Linked DNA regions of Homo sapiens: regions 1, 2, 3, 4, 5 and 6 are each linked to region 7. Evidence: promoter capture Hi-C in 16 types of primary human blood cells and fetal thymus (Javierre and others, 2016). All regions are on one chromosome and are shown on one strand. Each heading gives the region's core, a stretch centred on a gene start or on the middle of the fragment in contact. The rest is flanking DNA. Distances are from core to core; before and after follow the strand shown. Region 1 has its middle 22 kb from the start of PDCD6IP-DT. Region 2 overlaps GLB1 (galactosidase beta 1). Region 3 has its middle 32 kb from the start of CLASP2. Region 4 overlaps GLB1 (galactosidase beta 1). Region 5 overlaps GLB1 (galactosidase beta 1). Region 6 overlaps PDCD6IP (programmed cell death 6 interacting protein). Region 7 holds the start of UBP1 (upstream binding protein 1).

Region 1 (2,700 bases), core at 163-2,662, 340 kb after region 7:
CGAAGCTGAAAATAAATGTGACTGAATCCTAGATTATAAAAATTAGGCAAATCTCAGTCTTTGGAATTATCTATTATGTGCTTTTTCACACTGACTCTGGGACAGTCTGAAGTTGGTAGTGTCTGTTAAGCTCCTCTAGCTTGCCAATCCAGGTGCCTGGTACCTTCCCAGAACTGCCTTTTTCATGTGACCCTGATATTCATTCCTTTCCCAGTGCTCTTCCTGGGTAACCTGAAAAATAGCCCCAGGATAGTGAAAAGTAGTCTTCTTTCTCATCCAGAGATTAAGTGCATTTTAAGCATGGTCATCTTCTAAAGGAATGAATCATCCTAATCAGGAAAATCTGAGGCACCAGAACAAGTAGTTATATTTTGCTCGGAAATGCTTTTAGGGATACTGAATGAGGTGGTATGTACCCATAACGCCAGCTACTGGGGAGCCTGAGGCAGGAGGATTGCTTAAGTCCAGGTGTTTGAGACCAACCTGGACAACATAGCGTCAAAAACATTTTTTTGAGACCCTGTCTCAAAAAAAAAAAAAAGGAAAAAAAAAAAAGGAAATGCCTTTAGGTGCTCCTTTATATTGTTGTGAGTTTTGTTCCCATGAGACAGGCTCTATAGTATCTGGCTCTTTTCCTAAGCACTGCAAGAAAGCTAAACACAGGTCACTCTGCCAGGCCTACCAAAGTATGTCCTCAGTCTTCCCTACCGCAACATCACTCCCTACCAAGATAGCCCACCCCACCATCTCACACTGGGAAGATTCTGTTTAAGTTTTCTTGAATCTTTAGAAACAATTTTGGCCTCTCTGCTGGGGGAAGGAGTAGAGAATGCTGTTATCTGGGGACTGATACTTCCGTTTGTTCAGAGGAATAGCTCAGTGGACTACCATTCTTGGTAATGGTATAGTTGACCCTTGGAAAACATGAATGTGAACTGCACAGCTCTACTTATATGTGGATTTCTGCCACCCCAGGAAGAGCAAGACCAATCCTTCTTCTTTCTCCTCTTTCTCAGCTACTCAAAGTGGAAGATGAGGAGAATAAAGACCTTTATGATGATCCACTTCCAGTTAATCAATAGTAAATATATTTTCTCTTCCTTATAATTTTACTAACATTTTCTTTTCTCTAACTTACTTTATTGTAAGAATACAGTATATGTGTTATATACTGTATATAATACATGTTATATGAAATATGTTTTAATCAACCATTTATGTTATCAGTAAGTCAATAGTAAGCTATTAGTCATTAAAAGTTTAGGGAGTCAAAAGTTATAGGCAGATTTTCCACTGTGCAGGAATAAGCGCCTCTAACTCTGTGTTGTTGAGGGGTTAACTGAAATTCCTACAAATTTTCATGAAAAGTTTAATTACTTTTTGTGTGTTTCTGAACATAGGCTCCCTCTTGTGGTTCATAGGATATATGATATATAAGAGATAGGAAATTTTATCTGCATTTTTGCAGTTGCAAAGATTACTTGGGCACTGGTAGAAAGATGATTATAGCTGAAGGCATTGATGATTTTTTTTTTTTGAGACGGAGTCTCGCTCTGTTGCCCAGGCTGGAGTGCAGTGGTGCAATCTCAGCTCACTGCAACCTCCGCCTCCCGGGTTCAAGCGATTCTCCCGCCTCAGCCTCCCCAGTAGCTGGGACTACAGGCGCATGCCACCACGCTCAGCTATTTTTTGTATTTTTTTAGTAGAGACGGGATCTCACCGTGTTAGCCAGGATGGTCTCGATCTCCTGACCTCGCGATCCACCTGCCTCGGCCTCCCAAAGTGCTGGGATTACAGGCGTAAGTCATCGTGCCTGGCCTGCACTGATAATTTTTAAATGAGTAATGTAAAGACCTAAGTTAACTTATTTAAGAATTATGCTTGTATGAAGACCCAGTAGGCAAGAAATTATAGCATTTGAATAAAGAAAAATCTGTTTAACCAGCATTTTAAAAGTAATAACTGGCCGGGTGCAGTGGCTCACATGTCTAATCCTAGCACTTTGGGAGGCTGAGGTGGGCGGATCACTTGAGGCCAGGAGTTTGAGACCAGCCTGGCCAAAATGGCGAAACCCATCTCTACTAAAAATACAAAAAATTAGTTGGGCATGGTGGCGCATGCCTGTAATCCCAGCTATTCAGGAGGCTGAGGCAGGAGAATCGCTGGAACCCAGGAGGCGGAGGTTGCAGTGAGCCAAGATCACGCCACTGCACTCCGGCCAAAGTGCGACTCTGTCTCAAAAGAAAAAACAAGTAATAACTAATATTTATTGAGTTATTTAATGTTCCAGGTACTATTATAAACACTTTATGTAAACAATTATGTAACTTTTTTTTTTTGAGATGGAGTCTCGCTCTGTCACTCAGGTGAGTGCAGCGGCATGAGCTTAGCTCACTGCAACCTCCACTTCCCGGGTTCCAGCGATTCTGCCGCCTTAGCCTCTCGAGTAGCTGGGATTACAGGCATGTGCCACCATGCTGGGTGAATTTTTTTGTATTTTTAGTAGAGAGGGGGTTTCACCATGTTGGCCTGGCTGGTCTCGAACTCCTGACCTCGAGTCATCTTCCCGCCTCAGCTTCCCAAAATGCTGGGATTACAGGCATAAGCTACCACGTCCAGCATTATGTAACTTTTTATTATGGAGAATTTCACACTTAAGAAATGAAGAAAAAAGCAAAAAGAGCTTCCATATGTGCATTA
Region 2 (2,700 bases), core at 47-2,546, 350 kb before region 7:
AAAAAAAAAAAAGAGCCAGGAGTGGTGGTGGTGGTGCATGCCTGTAGTCCTAGCTATCTGGAGGCCAAAGTGAGTGTATCGCTTAAGCCCAGGAAATTGAGAGTGCAGTGAGTTACAGTCACACCACTGCACTCCAGCCTGAACAACAGAGCAAGACTAAGACTCTAAAAAGTAAAAAATGAAAAATGAAAAGGTCCCAACTGGCCAAAGATGGGCTATTTTGAGTATTAAAAGATGTAACACTTTGATGAACTAAAAAACATCAGATATATAAAATATCTAAATATCTAAATTCCTAACAATATTTCACCCACCCAGAAGAAAAGCTTATTGGTCATTCTTGGAGGTTGCTGTGGTATCAGATCATTATGCTATAAACTAAGGAATCAAGTGAAAGAATCTGGTATCTGTCTTGCCTTTGTTATAGGCTTTTTCAGAGTAACCACATAATTAATGAGGAGAGTTCTTTGTAAAGGATCCATAGCCAGTAAATGCAGGAAAAAAAGGGTAGAATTTTACAAATCACTATTCTGCAATCTTTAGTGAAATAATGACATTAGGCAACAATCACCAATGACTGCTGAAACATTAAATGGAAAGATAATGCGGAATTTTCTAGTGGAGGGATCAAGCTGACAACACCTGGACCAACAGGTCAATCTTAATATCAGTGAAGCAATGAATTCTTCCTACCCAAAAAGCGAAAAAGTTGAACCTGAATCCAACCAGCCTCTAGCTCTAACCTTTAGAGAGCTTTAGCTCTATGAGCTCACAGAAAATATGAACATGTTAAATGACACCAAAATCTAAAATGTATAAAATTTTAAGACATATGACCCAGATAACTTGAACAAATAAATGATAAAAAATAAGGAAAAGGGGATGTTATAGACTTAAGGAGACTGAAGAAATACACCACAGGCAAAATATAGACCTATTTTTAGATCCTGTTTCAAACAAAATAACTATAAAAAGACAATTCCATAAGAAGAAAAAAATAAACCCAAAGCTAGCAAAAGGAAATAAAATATTAGAGTAGAAATAAACAAAAGAGAATAGAAAGATAGTAGGAAAAAAAAACAGTTGGTTTTTGAAAAAAAAATCAACAAAATTGAGAAACTTAACTAGATTTAAAAAAAAGAAGATATAAATAAATCAGAAATGAAGAGGGGACATTATAACTGATGACACAGAAATAAAGAATTGTAAGAGAATAGCATGAACAACTGTATGCCAACAAATTGGATAACCTAGAAGATATGGATAAATTTCTAGACACACCCAGCCCACCAAGACCGAATCATGAAGAAACAGAAAATCTATACAGACCAATAGCTATTAAAAAGATTGAATCAGTCATCAAAAACCTCAAAGAGGCCGGGTACGGTGGCTCCCGCCTGTAATCCCAGCACTTTGGGAGGGGGAAGCGGCCAGATCACTTGAGGTCAAGAGTTTGAGACCAGCCTGGCCAACATGGTGAAACCCCGTCTCTACTAAAAATACAAAAATTAGCCGGGTGTGGTGGCGCGTGCCTGTGGTCCTGGCTACTTGGGAGGCTGAGGAAGGAGAATCGCTTGAACCTGGGAGGTGGAGGTTGCAGTGACCCAAGATCATGCCTCTGCACTCCAGCCCCGGCGACAGAGCAAGACCATGTCTCAGCATGCGCGCACACACACACACACACACACACACACACACACACACACACACACACACACTCAAAGAAAAACCTAGAACCAGATGGCTTCACTGGAGAATTCTACCAAACATTTAAAGAAGAATTAATACCAATCCTCCTGAAACTATTACAAAAGTTGAAGAGGAGGAACATTTCTAAATTTATTCTATGAGACCAATATTATCCTAATACCAAAGCCAGACAAATACACTACAAGAAAACTACAGAACAATAATATTCCTGGTGAATATTGATGCAAAAATCCTCAACAAAATACTAGCAAACTGAATTCAACAGTACATTAAAAGGGTTATATACTATGATCAAGTGGGATTTATTCCTAAAATGCAAGAATGGTTTAACATATAAAAATCAATCAATATAATACACCAAATTAACAGATTGAAGGGCAAAAACCACATGATAATCTAAATTGAGGCAGAGAAAGCATGACAAGATTCAACACCCTTTCATGATTAAAAAAACCAACAACTCAACAAATGCAAAATAGAAGAAAACTACCTCCACATCATAAAGCCCACATGTGAAGAGCCCATAGCTAACATCATATTCAATAGTGAAAGACTGCAAGCTTTTCCTCTAAGATCAGGAAAAAGGCAAGATGTCTGTTTTTGCCACTTCTACTCAACATAGTTTTGGAAGTCCTAGTCAGAGCAACTAGGCAAGAAAGAAATAAAAGGCATTCAAATTAGAAAGGAGAAGTAAAATGATCGATTCACAGATGATATAATCTTAGATGTAGGAAACCCTAAAGACTACACACACACACACACACACACACACACACACACACACACACAAACTGTTAGAACTAATAAATGAATTCAGCAAAGTTGCAGGATACAAAAAGCAACATACCAAAATCAGTTGCTTCTCTATACACTAAAAATGAACAATCCTAAATGGAATTTCAAAAAATTCCATATATAAAAGCATCAAAAAGAATAAAATACTTAGAAATAGGCCTAACTAAGGTGAAAGACTACACTGAAAACTACAAA
Region 3 (2,861 bases), core at 337-2,836, 310 kb after region 7:
TCCTGCCTCAGCCTCCCAAGCAGCTAGGATGGCAGGCACGTGCCACCATGCCCGGCTAATTTTTGTATTTTAGTAAAGACAGGGTTTCACCATGTTGGCCAGGCTGGTCTTGAACTCCAGGCCTCAAGTGGTCTGCCCGCCTTGGCCTCCCAAAGTGCTGGAATCACAGGTGTGAGCCACCACACCCAGCAAGAGATCCTTGTTTCAATCCACTTTTAAAAGTCTTAAGTCCCCTCACCGTCCATAAAACAGTTTTTTCCTCTCCAGAAAGGGATGGGGAAGGGATGAAAGTTAAAATTTGAGGACAGCTGTTAACTACGTTTCTCAAGAAAGTCACATTAAAATCTCTGAACATCGGCCTGCCGCGGTGGCTCAAGCTTGTCATCCCAACACTTTGGGATGCCGAGGTGGGTGGATCACGAGGTTAGGAGTTCAAGACCAGCCTGGCCAAGATGGTGAAACTCCGTCTCTACTAAAAATACAAAAATGAGCTGAGTGTGGTGGCAGGCGCCTGTAATCCCAGCTACTGGGGAGGCTGAGGCAGGAGAATTGCTTGAACCCAGGAGGTGGATCTTGCAGTGAGCCGAGATCATGCCACTGCACTCCAGCCTCAGTGACCGAGTAAGACTCCATCTCAAAAAAAAAAAAAAAATCTCTGAACATCATTCTCAGAAAAATAAATTGTATTCTATTTTATTGTTACAAATTAAACATTTAATACTTGCACATGACTTCAAAAAAACTGTTGCAAAATTTGTGGCAAATAGTTGGGCAGTTCCTCAAAAAGTTCAGTATAGAGTTACTATGTGACTCAGCAATTCTACTCCTAGGTATATACCCAAGAGAAATAAAAATAGACAAAAATGTGTATGCAGATTTCATAACAGTATTATTCATGATAGCCAAAGAGAAAAACGACCCAAATGTCCATCAACTGATGAGTTAATAGAGAAAATATGGTATATTCATACAATGAAATATTATTCATCCATAAAAAGGTAGGGAGCAGTGATACATGCTACAACATGAACCATGAGAATACACTAAGTGAAAGATGCCACCATAAAAGACTGCATATTGTATGATTCCATTTATATGAAATACCCAGAATAGGCAAATCCACAGGACAGAAATTAGATTAGTGGTGCCTATGAGCTGGGAATTCCCTAGAGGGAGAATGGAGAGTGACTGCTAAAGGATGTGGGGTTTCTTTTGTGGCGACAAAAATGTTCTGAAATTAGATAGTGATGATGGTGGCACACCTCTCTGAATATACTAAAAAAAACATTGAATTGTGCACTTTCAATGAGTGACCTTTTTTTAAGACAGCAGACTTAGGATGAGTTTTATGGTATATAAATCATAACCCAATGAAACTGTTATTTTTTAAAATGTGCTAAATTTTTATTTAATAATGCAACTAAAGAGCAGAGAGGAACTTGCTCATGAAGCTAAGCTCAAGTGGGTAGTGGAGTTATGATTGGATGTCATCCCTGCCAATCTTTACTGCCCTAAGCGGGGTTATATTGGGGGTTGGAGCAAACATCTCCTTTAAAGCCAGTGTCTGGTTGAGAGGATAATCTCCCCTTCCCTAATGCCTTCCCCTCAAAAAAGTTGGAGGATCTCACAGCAGAGGTTTAAGGATTATTTAAGAAAAGGACTGAAACCGTCCGGGCATGGTGGCTCACGCCTGTAATCCCAGCATTTTTGGAGGCCAAGGGAGACAGATCTCCTGAGGTCAGGAGTTCGAGACCAGCCTGCCCAACATGGTGAAACCCCATCTCTACTAAAAATACAAAAAATTAGCTGGGCGTGGTGGCGGGTGCCTGTAATCCCAGCTACTCAGGAGGCTGAGGCAGGAGAATCACTTGAACCCGGGAGGCAGAGGATGCAGTGAGCTGAGATTGGGCCACTGCACTCCAGCCTGGGCAACAAGAGTGAAACTCCATCTCAAAAAAAAAAAAAAAAAAGGACTGAAACCAATGTGATAGTACCTGAATGTTGTTCATTATGATTTTCCGTTAAGCAGTTGTTCTCAACCTTGTCAGCATGTTGGAATCACCTGGGGAGTTTTAACAATACCAATGCCTGGGTCCCACCTCCAGAGATTCTGACTTACCTGTTCTGAGGTGTGGCCTGAGGACTGGAACTTTAAAAGCTCCCCAAGTGATTCCAGTGTGCAAGCAAGGTTGGGGGGCATTGCCATGGAGAAAAAGGAGCAGCAGAATATTTCACTAATTACTGTTTCTTTGGAGTTCTGAAATTTCCACTTATTGTTCATTTTTAAAGGCTTGAAATTGGGCTTAGCCCAAATAAATGATGTTGACAAATGCCTAGAATAGCTAAATTATTCTTAGTAGTAGTATTTCAGTTACTGTTTTCATTACTAACTTTTGGCTTCCAAGAGCCATGTTATTAAGTTTGACAAAAGTAAACAATCACATAGAAATAACTCCAAAACACTCTGGCAAAGATAATCTATATCTGGTTAACTGAACTTTAGTCAAAATGAGCAGTTCAGATCCTTCTTTAAGACTGAAATTGCTGATGTACCTTCAGAACAGTGTAGAAAAAAAAGACTGTAATACTTATAAGAACGTAATCAGCTTTCTCAGAAAGTCACAGTTAATCTTTTATTTCAAAAGAATGAGTAATATTGTTTATTGCTTTTTCTTCAGAAAACTCCAAAGTGCTTGAGAACCACAAACCAATGCTTCTGAAATCATACCTTCAGAAACACTTTTAGTGGCTCATCATTTCCATCAACAGTGAACTATGCCCGAGGCCACATCTGTAAAGCTTTTTATGGTTCCTTTGACTTATTTAAATGTATTTTTTAAATCAAAATTTTACTTGTAAAT
Region 4 (2,902 bases), core at 173-2,672, 370 kb before region 7:
AAGGTACTGGAGTAAGACAAAGAAAAAAACTATCATTTACACATTGCTCTATAAAAGTGGCCAGAATATAGAAGGCATTGCAGCTACCAAGCAATCCAATGACACCATCCCAGAAACTGTCATTTTGTTTTTATTTCTTTTTTTTTTTTTTTTTGAGACAGAGTTTCGCTCTTGTTGCCCAGGCAGGAATGCAATGGCGCAATCTGGGCTCACTGCAACCTCTGCCTCCCAGCTTCAAGCAATTCTCCTGCCTCAGCCTCCCGAGTAGCTGGGATTACAGGCATGCACCACCACACCCAGCTAATTTTGTATTTTTTAGTAGAGACAGGGTTTCCTCATGTTGGTCAGGCTGGTCTCGAACTCCTGACCTCAGGTGATCCACCCACCTCGGCCTCCCAAAGTGCTGGGATTACAGGCATGAGCCACTACGCCCGACCTTATTTCTTTTTTTGAGACAAAGTCCCTCTCTGTTGCCCAGGATGGAGTGCAGTGGTACAATCATGGCTCACTGCAGTCTCAACCTCCCAGGCTCAAGCAATCCTCCCACCTCAGCCTCCCGGACTACAGGCATGTGCCAGCACACCTGGCTAATTTTTATAGAGATAGGGTCTCGCTATGTTACCTAGGCTGGTATCAAACTCCTGGGCTCAAGCAATCCCTCCACTTTGGCCTCCCAAAGTGCTGAGATTACAAGTGTGAGTCACCATGCCTGACTTGTCATTTTGATTAGCGAGGTGCTATCATTGGCTGTGGAATATGCTAAGTAAATAGGAAGAGAAAGCACTGAAGTCAGTTGGTCAACCGCAAACAGGGTTCAATACCAATTCAAAGAATTACCAGTTTATCAGTAAGATCTGGTTACGTAGTTCAAAGCCTAATTTCCTAGAGGTTTAGTTTGTTGCTATGCACTGGTCAGTGATAAACACTCAGACTTTCACTAAACTTTCAAAAGTATTTGTGCAGAGGTACCCCAGCCTTCAAAATACCTCCCCCTTTTGATATAAATTGTTGAAGCTTTTTTGTTTGTTTGTTTGTTTTGAGACAGAGTCACGCTTTGTCACCCAGGCTATAGTGCATTGATACGATCTCGGTTCACTGCAACTTCCGCCTCCAGGGTTCAAGCAATCCTTCTGCCTCAGCCTCCTGAGTAGCTGGGATTACAGGCGCCCACCACCATGCCCAGCTAATTTTTTGTATTTTTAGTAGGGGCGAGGTTTTGCCATTTTGGCCAGCCTGGTCTCGAACTCCCAACCTCAGGTAATCCACCCGCCTCAGCCTCCCAAAGTGTCAGGATTACAGGCGTGAGCCACCGCACCTAGGCTGAAGCTTTTATAAATCTTCTCAAGACATCTGTAACAACCTACCTGGGTCGGAGGAGCGGAGAAGAATAGACTCTTTCTCTAGCAGCCAAGCAGGTAATCCTCCCTAGTTCAGGGAAAACAAGCCATTATAATGTCTGTTCCGTGAAGGGTGCTCAGAGGAGATAGAAATTACTATTAGTAGTTATGGAAAAGAATAAAAGCTTCAAGGGACAAGGGGTATTTGAGCTGGGCTTTTTGGTTTATAACTTGCAGAGAAATTAGAAATTGGAATGTAGGACAATTAAGATCACTCTGCATGAATGCAATGTTTTAAGGACCAAAGCCCTTTTCATAAAGATTTTTCAATTTAATTTCACAAATACCCTGTGACGTAGATAGAGAAGACACCATTAACTGCTTCTTACAGATGAGCAAGCTGAGGTATGTGAGTGACCACCAAGAGGAGAGCCCATGCCCTGACCCTGGCCTGTTTCTCTGCCTGGGCACCTTGTCAAGGTAAAAGACACCTGTGCTGGGTACAGTCCCAGGCCCCATGCTCTCTGGAATGCAGGTCTGCTTTAATTCCCTTTGCCCCAGAGCTGCTGCCTGCCAGCTCACACACACCAGGTAGAGCCCAGTCTAGCCACACTCACCATTTCCCACTCTGCACAGATGTAGGGCCCGGGCCTCAGGATAACCAGCAGTCCCAGCTCATGAGCCAGCCGAAGAAAATATTCCACATCATGGTCCTCAGAAAACTGGTACTGTCCTGGCCAGGGCTCATGAAAGTTCCAGGGCACATACCTGCCAAGACACACACAGCCCCTTCCTGGATACTTGGCAGAGTCAAGAAGAAAGAAGCGTGGGGAAAGGGCCTCATTAGGACTATTGCTAACACATGGATAAGAGGGAGAAGGCGCTTTGAAAGAAAAATTATCCAAGGCTGGGCACAGTGGCTCAGGCCTCTAATCCCAGCACTCTGGGAAGTCACGGTGGGTGGATGGCTTGAGCCCAGGAGTTTGACACCAGCCTGGAAAACATGGTGAAACCCCGTCTCTACAAAAAACACAAAAAAATTAGCCAGGGTGTATGCCTGTGGTCCCAGTTACCCTGGAGGCTTGAGGTGGAGGTTTGCTTAAGCTAGGGAGGTTGAAGCTGCAGTGAGCTGTGATTGTGCCACTGCACTCCAAACTGGATGACAGAGTGAGACCCTGTGTCAAAATAAAGAAAGAAAAGAAAAGAAAAATTATCCAGAATTTGGATATAAGGCAAAAGGGTGACTGCATTTCCTTTCCATGTTATAATGGAGGACTGTCCAATGGGCCCACTGAGGCTTCCTTCATTCTCCAGGGGAGATATTTTGTTTGACTTACTATTTACTATTGATTAAGGGAAGAACTTTGAAGTTACAGATTAATTTGTAGATTATTGCCTGAGAGAGAAACAAATGATTGTCATACAGAGAAGACAACTCTAAAGGTTGCTTTTTCATTCATTGCCCTTTATGATACTAACCAGTTTTATCTCTAAAGATAACTTTATTTGAACATGACTTTCTTGACTGACCGTAAACCTCCCTTCCTCAAATTCTCCTTTGAATT
Region 5 (2,784 bases), core at 89-2,588, 390 kb before region 7:
CTCACTTGCCCTTGAGTCCTTAGCCAGAGCCCAGCATGGAGGGGGTTGCCAGGTTGAGTTGGGAAAGTGTGACCTCTAGAAGCACACTTTACAGGCCGAGGGAGCCCAGGCTGGGAAGCTGTCCAGTGGGTTTAAGGATGGATTGGAAGACTAAGTATTTGTTCTAGTTCTACTGGCAGAATCTTACTTTGGGTGTTTTTAGACCACCAAAGGGCAGCATCGCAGAGAAATGGTGCAGATTCAAGCCTCCTCTGGCCACTTAAGAGGGTGTGAGGTGGGAAGGTGAAAGAAATGGTGAGACTTTGCATTCATCAACATTCCACATTGTGTGAGAAGTACAGGAGCGCCTGGACCCTGTAGGCAGCCATCACACAGCTGTGGACACACACAGGTGTGGAGGAAGGAGACACACACCTGCACAGGCAGGTGCATGTTCCTGTGGGTGGGATGGGCAGTGAACTCCCCACTCCTGATGCCTTTCTCTCCCTGCTCTCCTCTAGGAAGCTGGCCTGAAGAACAGCTGCTAAGTACAGACTGGCCTTCTCTCACTTCCTCAAAGAGACAGGGCAAAAAGCAGCTTCAGGGAGGCTTGGCAGAACACAGTGGGGTGGGTGTGGGGGCTGGCTCAGGGGCTCCAGGGTGCAAAGGGTGATCCAAAGCGCAGTGACTCTGGCTCACCACCACCTGAGTTCCAGTCCAAGCTTCACCCCTTGCCAGCTGAACAGAAAACGTGTGGACTTTTTTTTGTATTCAGCTATTCTTATCTGAAAAGTGGTGCTGATAATCTCTAATTAAGATGAGGCTAATATGCAGGCTAAATAAGGCAACAGAGGAAGAAAGGGGAATTCTATGGATTATGGCAGAGGGAGGGGCAGGAGAGAGGATTAAGGACAACATTTATGTTCTGACAGTTTCTATAATGTCCAATTTTTTTTTAAGATGAATGTGTTATTTTAAGTATAACAGTAAGATTTTTAAAAAATTGTGTCATGAACCATAAAGTTCCAAAAACGATGCCTTTTTTCCTGGATCGGATGATTGGTCCCGATCCCATCAATGGCAGCTAGGGGGAATCCCCATCTACTAAGTGAAAAAGGCACCCACCAGGTCTCAACTGTTTCTCATAAGATGAACACAGAGGGATTATCTAAAATATCAGTGACCAACCTTGGCACACTATTATCTTTTCCTTTTTTTTAATTTAATTTAAGTTCCGGGATATATGTGCAGGACGTGTAGGTTTGTTACATAGGTAAACGTGTGCCATGGTGGTTTGCCACACCTATCAACTGGTCACTTAGGTATTTATTTTATTTTATTTTTGAGACAAAGTCTCACCCTGTCACCCAGGCTGGAGTGCAATGGCACGATCTCAGCTCACTGCAACCTCCACCACCTGGGTTCAAGTGATTCTCCTGCCTCAGTCTCCCGAGTAGCTGGGATTACAGGTGAGCGCCACCACAACCAGCTAATTTTTTGTATCTTTAGTAGAGACAAGGTTTCACCATGTTGGCCAGGCTGGTCTCAAACTCCTGACCTCGTGATCCACGCACCTCAGCCTCCCAAAGTGCCGGGATTACAGGCGTGAGCCACCGCACCCAGCCTGGTCACCTAGGTATTAAGCCCTGCATGCATTAGCTATTCATCCTGATGCTCTCCCTCCCCTCACCCACCCAGACACGCCCCAGGCACACTATTATCTTATATGCAGTGACATTTGAGTTTTGCAATATCTTCATTTCTTGGCTCTACTAATAGTATTAAAATTGATAATGCTTGTAAGCGATGTCTTCTCCTAGCCCATCTCAGCCTGCAAAAAAGATAGCAGTTCAAAGGAGAAACTTCATTAAGAGCTGATAGTATCCAATTTCAGATCCTGAGAGATTTAGGCCCAAACTAAGCCTTCAAAACTCAACAGCTGGGCATCCTCCATGATTCAGAGAGAAAAATGCAAATAAAGAGACAGGTGGGAAATGAAGCTTAGCGAAAAGCCAGTACAGCATCATCTGTCTTTGCAAAAAAACAACAAAAATCAAAGACGTTACAGAAAAATTTTGTCATAATTTTTCCTACACAAAAAAATACAGAAATGTAAAGTGGTGTGGCCTTTTTGGGAAACACTATGGCAGTTCCTGAAACTCTAAACATAGAGTTACCATATGACACAGCCGTTCCACTTCTTGGTATACACCCAAAGGAACTGAAACAGGAATTCAAACAAATCCTTGTACATCAATGTTCAAAGCAACACTATAACCAAAATGTGCAAATAACCCAAATGTCCATCAACCAATGAATGGATAAATAAAATACTGTACATCCACACAAGGGAATACTATTCAGCAATAAAAAGGAATGAAGCACTAGTACGTGCAACAACGTGGATGAGCGTTGAACACATTGGGCTAAATGAAAGAAGTCATACAGGTGTATATATGTGGTTCACTTATACGAAATGTTCAGAATTGGCAAACCCACAGGGACAGAAAGTATATTATTTCCAGGGGCTGAGAGGAGGGAGAGTGTGGAATGAATGCTAATGGGTATGGAGTTTCTTTTTGGGGTGATAAAATGTTTCTGAATTAGATAATGGTAATGGTTACACAACTTTGTGAATACAGTAAATACCACTGCATCATATACTTAAAAATTGTCAATTTTATGGTTTGTGAATTATACCTCAACAAAACAAAACGTTAAAAGAAAGAGACCACAGTAGAATATTTGAACAAATAAGCTACAGTTATAGACTGTGACTGAAGCCTGCCCAACTACCCTGGTTTA
Region 6 (2,700 bases), core at 51-2,550, 390 kb after region 7:
TTAGTTTACTTTGTTTTTCCTTGTAATTTACTTTTAATCTTTGTTAAATCTCTTGTTACGCTATAGAGTTTTAGAAAGATAACCTTATTGTCTGTAGGTCAGATGTTTTAGATTGGTTTTGCATAATATAAAAATTTAAATATATTAACTGTTCACTGAGTTAACATTTGAAATGACTTTTATATGTAACAGTAGGAAATTAAGTCTTGCTGAGTTCCTATAAAGAAATTCTTTTTCCCCCCTTTAGTTTGCTAGTGGTGCCTTTTTACATATTAAAGAGACGGTTTTATCTGCCTTAAGTCGAGAGCCGACCGTGGACATATCTCCAGATACTGTTGGGACCCTCAGTCTTATTATGCTGGCACAGGCTCAAGAAGTATTTTTTTTAAAAGCCACAAGAGGTAACTCCAATTTATCTTTTTGTTGCATGTGAAAAAAAGTGATAAGGCTTTTAAATTAAGAAAGTGATTAGAATATAATATGTTCAATGTCGAGCTGTCCTTCTTGAACTTGATACATGAATTATGGAAAATTTTCAGCTATCCTTTTCTGAATTTGTGGCACAAATTTACATTTAAGAATGTAGGCTGTGTTTGAAGTCATGAAATAGATCTTTAGTAATTGTCTTTAAACACTCCATTCTGGAATAGTATTTATGTATGTTTTTAACATGTCAGACATTTATTCGCAAATATTTATTGGATACTTACTCTGTGCCAGTCACTGTTCTAGTTTCTAGATAAACGGAGTTAGAAAACAACTTAGGTTTTGGCGACGGGAGAGATGATAAGCAAGAATTAAGTAGACAGGATAATTTCATAAATAATTGCTATAAGATTTCAGAAATAATTGCTATAAAAAATAAGAGAATTATATGATAGTGGCTGGTGGTATGGTTATGGGATAGGGATATAGGGGAAGCTGGGCTAATTTTAGATTCATTAGTCAAGAAGGCTTTCTTTCAGGAGGTCCTCTTTAAAGTAGACCTAAATGACAAGAAGGAGTCATCCAGGCACAGTCCCTAGCCCTGGGAATGAGGGAATAAGAATAATTCTTATAAGGCATATAAGTTAGCATGAGAGATTGAAAATGGGCTGAATATGTAATATGGGCTGAAACTGAAAATAAGAGATAAGTCATCATGTGGAAGAAATAGGAATTGGAATACTTTTTTCTTTTAAAATAACAGCTTATATTGAGATAGAATTTATATACACTCAAGTTCACCCTTTCTAAGTATACAACATAAGATTTTTAGTATATTCATAGAGTTTTGATTACCACTATCTTATTTTAGAACATTACCATCATCCCAGAAAGAAGCCATGTACCCATTAGCAGTCACTCCTCACTCCCCTTTCCCCCACTGCTGGCAACCACTAATCTATTTTGTCTGTTCTAAATTTTGTGCAGAAAATGTGATTTCATCAAGAAAGATGTTTTCAGATGCGTGTACAAACTTGTGACCTCAGTGTTTATACTGAGACATGTCAGATTAGCTCATATTTATTTTAATTATAATGGTCATATTGTATTCCAGATAAAATGAAAGATGCCATCATAGCTAAATTGGCTAATCAGGCTGCAGATTATTTTGGTGATGCTTTCAAACAGTGTCAATACAAAGATACTCTCCCCAAGGTCAGTTATTGTTTTTATAAACACTTGCTTACTTTGCATGTGAAATATTTAGACTTTTTTGTGTATAAGAAGCAAGTTGAAACTTATAAAGAAATTTGAAGTTTTAATAGAGTTATCTGAAGTATATAGTAGAAATAGTTTTTTTTTTTTTTTAATTTAAGATGCATGAACAATTCTTTTATGTTTAGGGGATGCCTTTGTCTTTACCTTTTACTAAACTTGTTTTTCCAAGCTAGAACTCTTTCTGGAAAATGTTGACCATCTGTTTTCAATACTTTTATCAAATCAAGGCATTGTGTAGTTCTGAATCATTGGTGATTTGGTACAAGCATGTATACTTGAGCATGTTGATGATTCACACTTTTAATTATTGTCCTGTTTTCTTAAAGATGAGCCTTAAAGCGCAAAAACAGACATAAAGAAAAAAGGAAAAGAAAACTTAACAAATTCATCTGATACTTTGATTAGAATTCAGTTTTGCCAACAGGGATAAAAAATTGGGCTGCTAATGGACAGCTAAGGAAAGCAACCATCTTAAACCACATATCACAGGAAGTATAATGTTTTAATGTAAACCTTTCTGAAGTGACAATTGTAAAGACTATTCAGTGATGATCATTTGTTAATGACAAAGCAAATCACTAGTAAATTTGGAATGATTAATAAAGAAAACTTAAAGATTGAGTGAAATATATGTTTCAACTACTTCCTTCAGAAATGTTCAAGGAATTAGTTTCATCATATGGTATCTGTTACATGATTTTTTTTGGTAGGGGAATTTATTGATTTGTAAGTCATATTCAGGAATCTTTGTACATTAAAAAATTGCAGACAACTTGGGGGTGAAGTAAAAATGCACATAAGTGCATTAACAGTACTTATTACTCAGAAAATGATCAATAAGGAATTAATGTGACGATTCCTGGGGATTTAAGATACACCAAGAGCCTAGTAGAAATTTGCCCAGGATTCTTGGGTATTAACAGCCTTCCTCTTAAAAAGAGACTTGGGATCTCCTCTCATGTTTTTTTCATCTGAAAGACCTCATGTTCAGCTGCA
Region 7 (2,700 bases), core at 13-2,512:
CCTCAAGAGGAAACAGCCTGAGAGGGTAGTCTCCAAAATGAGAAACTTCACTTTGAGACAATCAAAAGAACAAAACGAAGTCACAGTGCTACTCCCACCGCTGCTCTTTCAATTATAATTTACTAACATCAAGTGATTAAAATCTGCAGCCAGAAAAGATCATAATGTAGGACAACAAAGTAGGAACTGATCCCAAAACGCTAGACAGTATTCTCCCAATATAAGTGCTGCCTTTTCGTACAGTGTATTCTAGCTCCAATGGGACTTGTAAATCACTTATAAGGAAAAGAAGCCCCTTCCCCCACCAACCCAAGCCATCCTAATAGCTGGGCGTGTTTTACAGCAAATATGAAGCACTCAGGAGCGGTCCGAGGCCGACGCTTGCGGGGCCATCCTCCCCCACCCGCCCGTCACCAGGGCGAGCAGAGGCCTTTGGGGTTCCATGGCCCCCGACCGCCACGCGGCAGGACTCCGACCCCGCAGCCCAGGAGGCCCGCGCACCTCTGGGAGCAGCCGCATCTGGCAGAGACTCAGGGCTGCGCAGGCCTTCCCCAAGGAGACAGAGGCTTCTCCCCGCCCAGGGAGCCCAGTACCTCATGCTGTAAGCGCCGGCGCCCAGTTCCTGCCCGATGCCCGAGAGGCTGGCGTCGAAGTCGTGCACCAGCCCGGACTCGATCACCTCGTCCATCTTGAGCACCCAGGCCATCTTCCGGCCTCGCCGTCGCCCCGCACACCGCGGCCTCCGCGTCCAGGGCGAAGGAGCCGGAGCTCCGCTGGCGCGTCCTGGGGGAGGGCGCGGGTGAAGCCTCCGGAGGGGCGGCGAGTGGTCACCAGCGGCGGCCGGGACGAGAGCTGCGGGGGCCCCACTGGCAGGGCACGACGAGCCCAGCGAGCAATTGCAGCGGGAGCGGCCGGGCCGCCGGCAGCGCCACCCTCCCGCGGACACCGGCCCTGCGCCTCATGCCGGCGCCGCCGCCCAGCCCCCGCGCCGCTAGCGCTGCAGCCGCCGCCGACCGCCCCGCCCGGGGCCCCCCGGTCGCATCCTCCTCCGGGACCGCTGGGAGGCTGGACCTCGGGCCGCTCCGAGGACCACACGGGGGCAAGCCCTCCGCCCGCCCGTCACCCGCCCCCAAGCCTTGACTCCTTGCCCCCGGCCCGCCCAGGCTCTAGCGCCACACCGCCCCGGCCAACCCCGCCGACGCCGCTCTGCCGGCCGGACGCTGGCTTCAACGCGACTCCGACTTAGGTTCACGCGCCGCTTCCGCCTCCCCCGGCCCCGCCCCGACCCCGCCCCGGCGTTCGCCCCACGCCTCGGCCCTCCCCGTACAGCCCCGCGCTTAGGGCCACTCCCCGCGCCTCGCGGCCCAGGAACTGTCCAGAGAGTGCAATGCGGCCCCGCCCACGCGGCTGTTCCCAGCCGGGGTGGCCTCGCTGCGTCCCCGCACAGCAGCCCAGGAAGAGGCGGTGCCAAAAGGGCTGCCAGTTTCCGCCCCTTCTAGCGAGCGAGATGATTGACAGGCCAACTGAGCAATACCTGCAAGGGCTTGGACGAAGCTCCCGTGAGTCTCTGTGTCCCCCGACTAAACAACCAATCAAAATGTTCTTCACCTTGGGCGGGCTCGAAGACGGAATTTGTTGCCAAAAGAAAGAGTTCATTGGACTGCATGGTAGAAAGCGACCCAAAACGCCACTTCCGGAGGTGATTTGCTCCTCTGTGGTATTTCCCGGTCGTCTCTGCTTTATGCCCTCTCTACCGAGGGAGTGAGCGGTTTGCACCCCATCTGGTGACAGAAAAGCCAGTTGTGCAGAAAACCTTGATTGGCGTGAGAATAAGCCAATCAACGCTCCTGAGAAAGAGCTCTGGAAAGACTTCCCCTATTGGTTGCATTGCCGAGAGCAGCTTGGCTATCCTGAGTTGAACTAGCTGTTGGTCATCCTAAGGGCAGGCGGTCTCCTGAAGTTGGACCGAACCATTAGGACGTGCCACAGTAACAGCTACGCTGCTCAGAAGGCCCGAAGGGTCTTCCTCAGCGACCTAGCGTGGGCACGCGCCACTGCGGCCAAAAGACAGAAATCTTTTTACCGGAAGAGATGAAATAGAAAGCAGGAGCCAGAGGCTGACTTACAGAGCCAGTGTGCGGATCAGAGTTCCTTAGGAGCGGCTGCTGGCGCTTGACGGGCGGAATCCTTGCTGAAGAGAACGTCAAGGCCCGGGCTTCGCCCTGCATCGAACTTACTGCCTAAGAATAAGACCCAAATGCTGAGCGCCCCGCCCCAACTTGCCAGTTTAAGTGCAAAAATACATAGATTAAAATGTCAGCCTAATAAAGCAGTGGCACTGAGCCAGAAAAAAATAGTCTCAACGCCTGTGTGATTTAGATACTAACTTACAGGCTCACGCCTGTAATCCCAGCACTTCGGGAGGCCGAGGCGGGTGAATTAGTTGAGGTCAGGAGACCATCCCGGCCAACATGGTGAAACCCCGTCTCTACCAAAAATAACAAAAATTAGCTGGATGTGGTGGCGCGCCCATGTAATCCCAGCTACTCAGGAGGCTGAGGCGGGAGTAAGGCTTGAACCCGGGAGAAGACAGAGCAACACTCGGTCTCCAAAAAAAAAAACCACAAATTAACTTGGAGAATGTTTTTCTCTTTACACAACATTTTTGCAAACATTTCATTTGATAAAGCCATACTTTAG

Evidence for each region. Contacts are between HindIII fragments. The CHiCAGO score rates a contact against its expected background, and 5 or more counts as called.
Region 1: a contact is called between a fragment that was not itself captured here and the fragment with the promoter of UBP1 in region 7, in 7 of 17 cell types (endothelial precursors, megakaryocytes, total B cells and 4 more). The highest score is 16.7, in endothelial precursors.
Region 2: a fragment that was not itself captured here is called in contact with the fragment with the promoter of UBP1 in region 7 in 2 of 17 cell types (neutrophils and erythroblasts); the score reaches 14.9 in neutrophils.
Region 3: a contact is called between a fragment that was not itself captured here and the fragment with the promoter of UBP1 in region 7, in 1 of 17 cell types (erythroblasts). The highest score is 5.1, in erythroblasts.
Region 4: a contact is called between a fragment that was not itself captured here and the fragment with the promoter of UBP1 in region 7, in 1 of 17 cell types (total B cells). The highest score is 5.1, in total B cells.
Region 5: a contact is called between a fragment that was not itself captured here and the fragment with the promoter of UBP1 in region 7, in 4 of 17 cell types (naive CD4 T cells, naive CD8 T cells, total CD8 T cells and 1 more). The highest score is 5.7, in naive CD4 T cells.
Region 6: a contact is called between a fragment that was not itself captured here and the fragment with the promoter of UBP1 in region 7, in 3 of 17 cell types (erythroblasts, naive CD8 T cells and activated CD4 T cells). The highest score is 6.1, in erythroblasts.

What each region holds. Positions count from the first base shown.
Region 1 is chr3:33,775,254-33,777,953 of GRCh38, forward strand. No RefSeq gene overlaps it. Among named protein-coding and RNA genes, the nearest start is that of PDCD6IP-DT, 22 kb to the right of the region's middle. The HindIII fragment of the contact is 2,869 bases long and covers 1-2,700 here.
Region 2 is chr3:33,085,913-33,088,612 of GRCh38, forward strand. The region is part of intron 1 of GLB1 (galactosidase beta 1); the gene reads right to left. Among named protein-coding and RNA genes, the nearest start is that of GLB1, 9.9 kb to the right of the region's middle. The HindIII fragment of the contact is 1,944 bases long and covers 325-2,268 here.
Region 3 is chr3:33,748,862-33,751,722 of GRCh38, forward strand. No RefSeq gene overlaps it. Among named protein-coding and RNA genes, the nearest start is that of CLASP2, 32 kb to the left of the region's middle. The HindIII fragment of the contact is 2,422 bases long and covers 376-2,797 here.
Region 4 is chr3:33,066,866-33,069,767 of GRCh38, forward strand. GLB1 (galactosidase beta 1) reads right to left here. Exons shown (of 16, transcript NM_000404.4): 3 at 1,955-2,105; 4 at 1,365-1,425. Among named protein-coding and RNA genes, the nearest start is that of GLB1, 29 kb to the right of the region's middle. The HindIII fragment of the contact is 196 bases long and covers 1,325-1,520 here.
Region 5 is chr3:33,048,112-33,050,895 of GRCh38, forward strand. All of the region lies in intron 9 of GLB1 (galactosidase beta 1), which reads right to left. Among named protein-coding and RNA genes, the nearest start is that of GLB1, 48 kb to the right of the region's middle. The HindIII fragment of the contact is 1,278 bases long and covers 700-1,977 here.
Region 6 is chr3:33,824,940-33,827,639 of GRCh38, forward strand. It overlaps PDCD6IP (programmed cell death 6 interacting protein), which reads left to right. Exons shown (of 18, transcript NM_013374.6): 5 at 248-401; 6 at 1,541-1,641. Among named protein-coding and RNA genes, the nearest start is that of PDCD6IP, 28 kb to the left of the region's middle. The HindIII fragment of the contact is 4,464 bases long and covers 1-2,700 here.
Region 7 is chr3:33,439,143-33,441,842 of GRCh38, forward strand. It overlaps UBP1 (upstream binding protein 1), which reads right to left and starts at 1,263. Exons shown (of 16, transcript NM_014517.5): 1 at 594-1,263. The coding sequence starts at 706. RefSeq lists silencers at 268-502, 422-471, 702-1,021, 1,072-1,181, 1,242-1,401 and enhancers at 721-1,220, 1,552-1,741, 1,952-2,241. The HindIII fragment of the contact is 4,671 bases long and covers 1-2,700 here.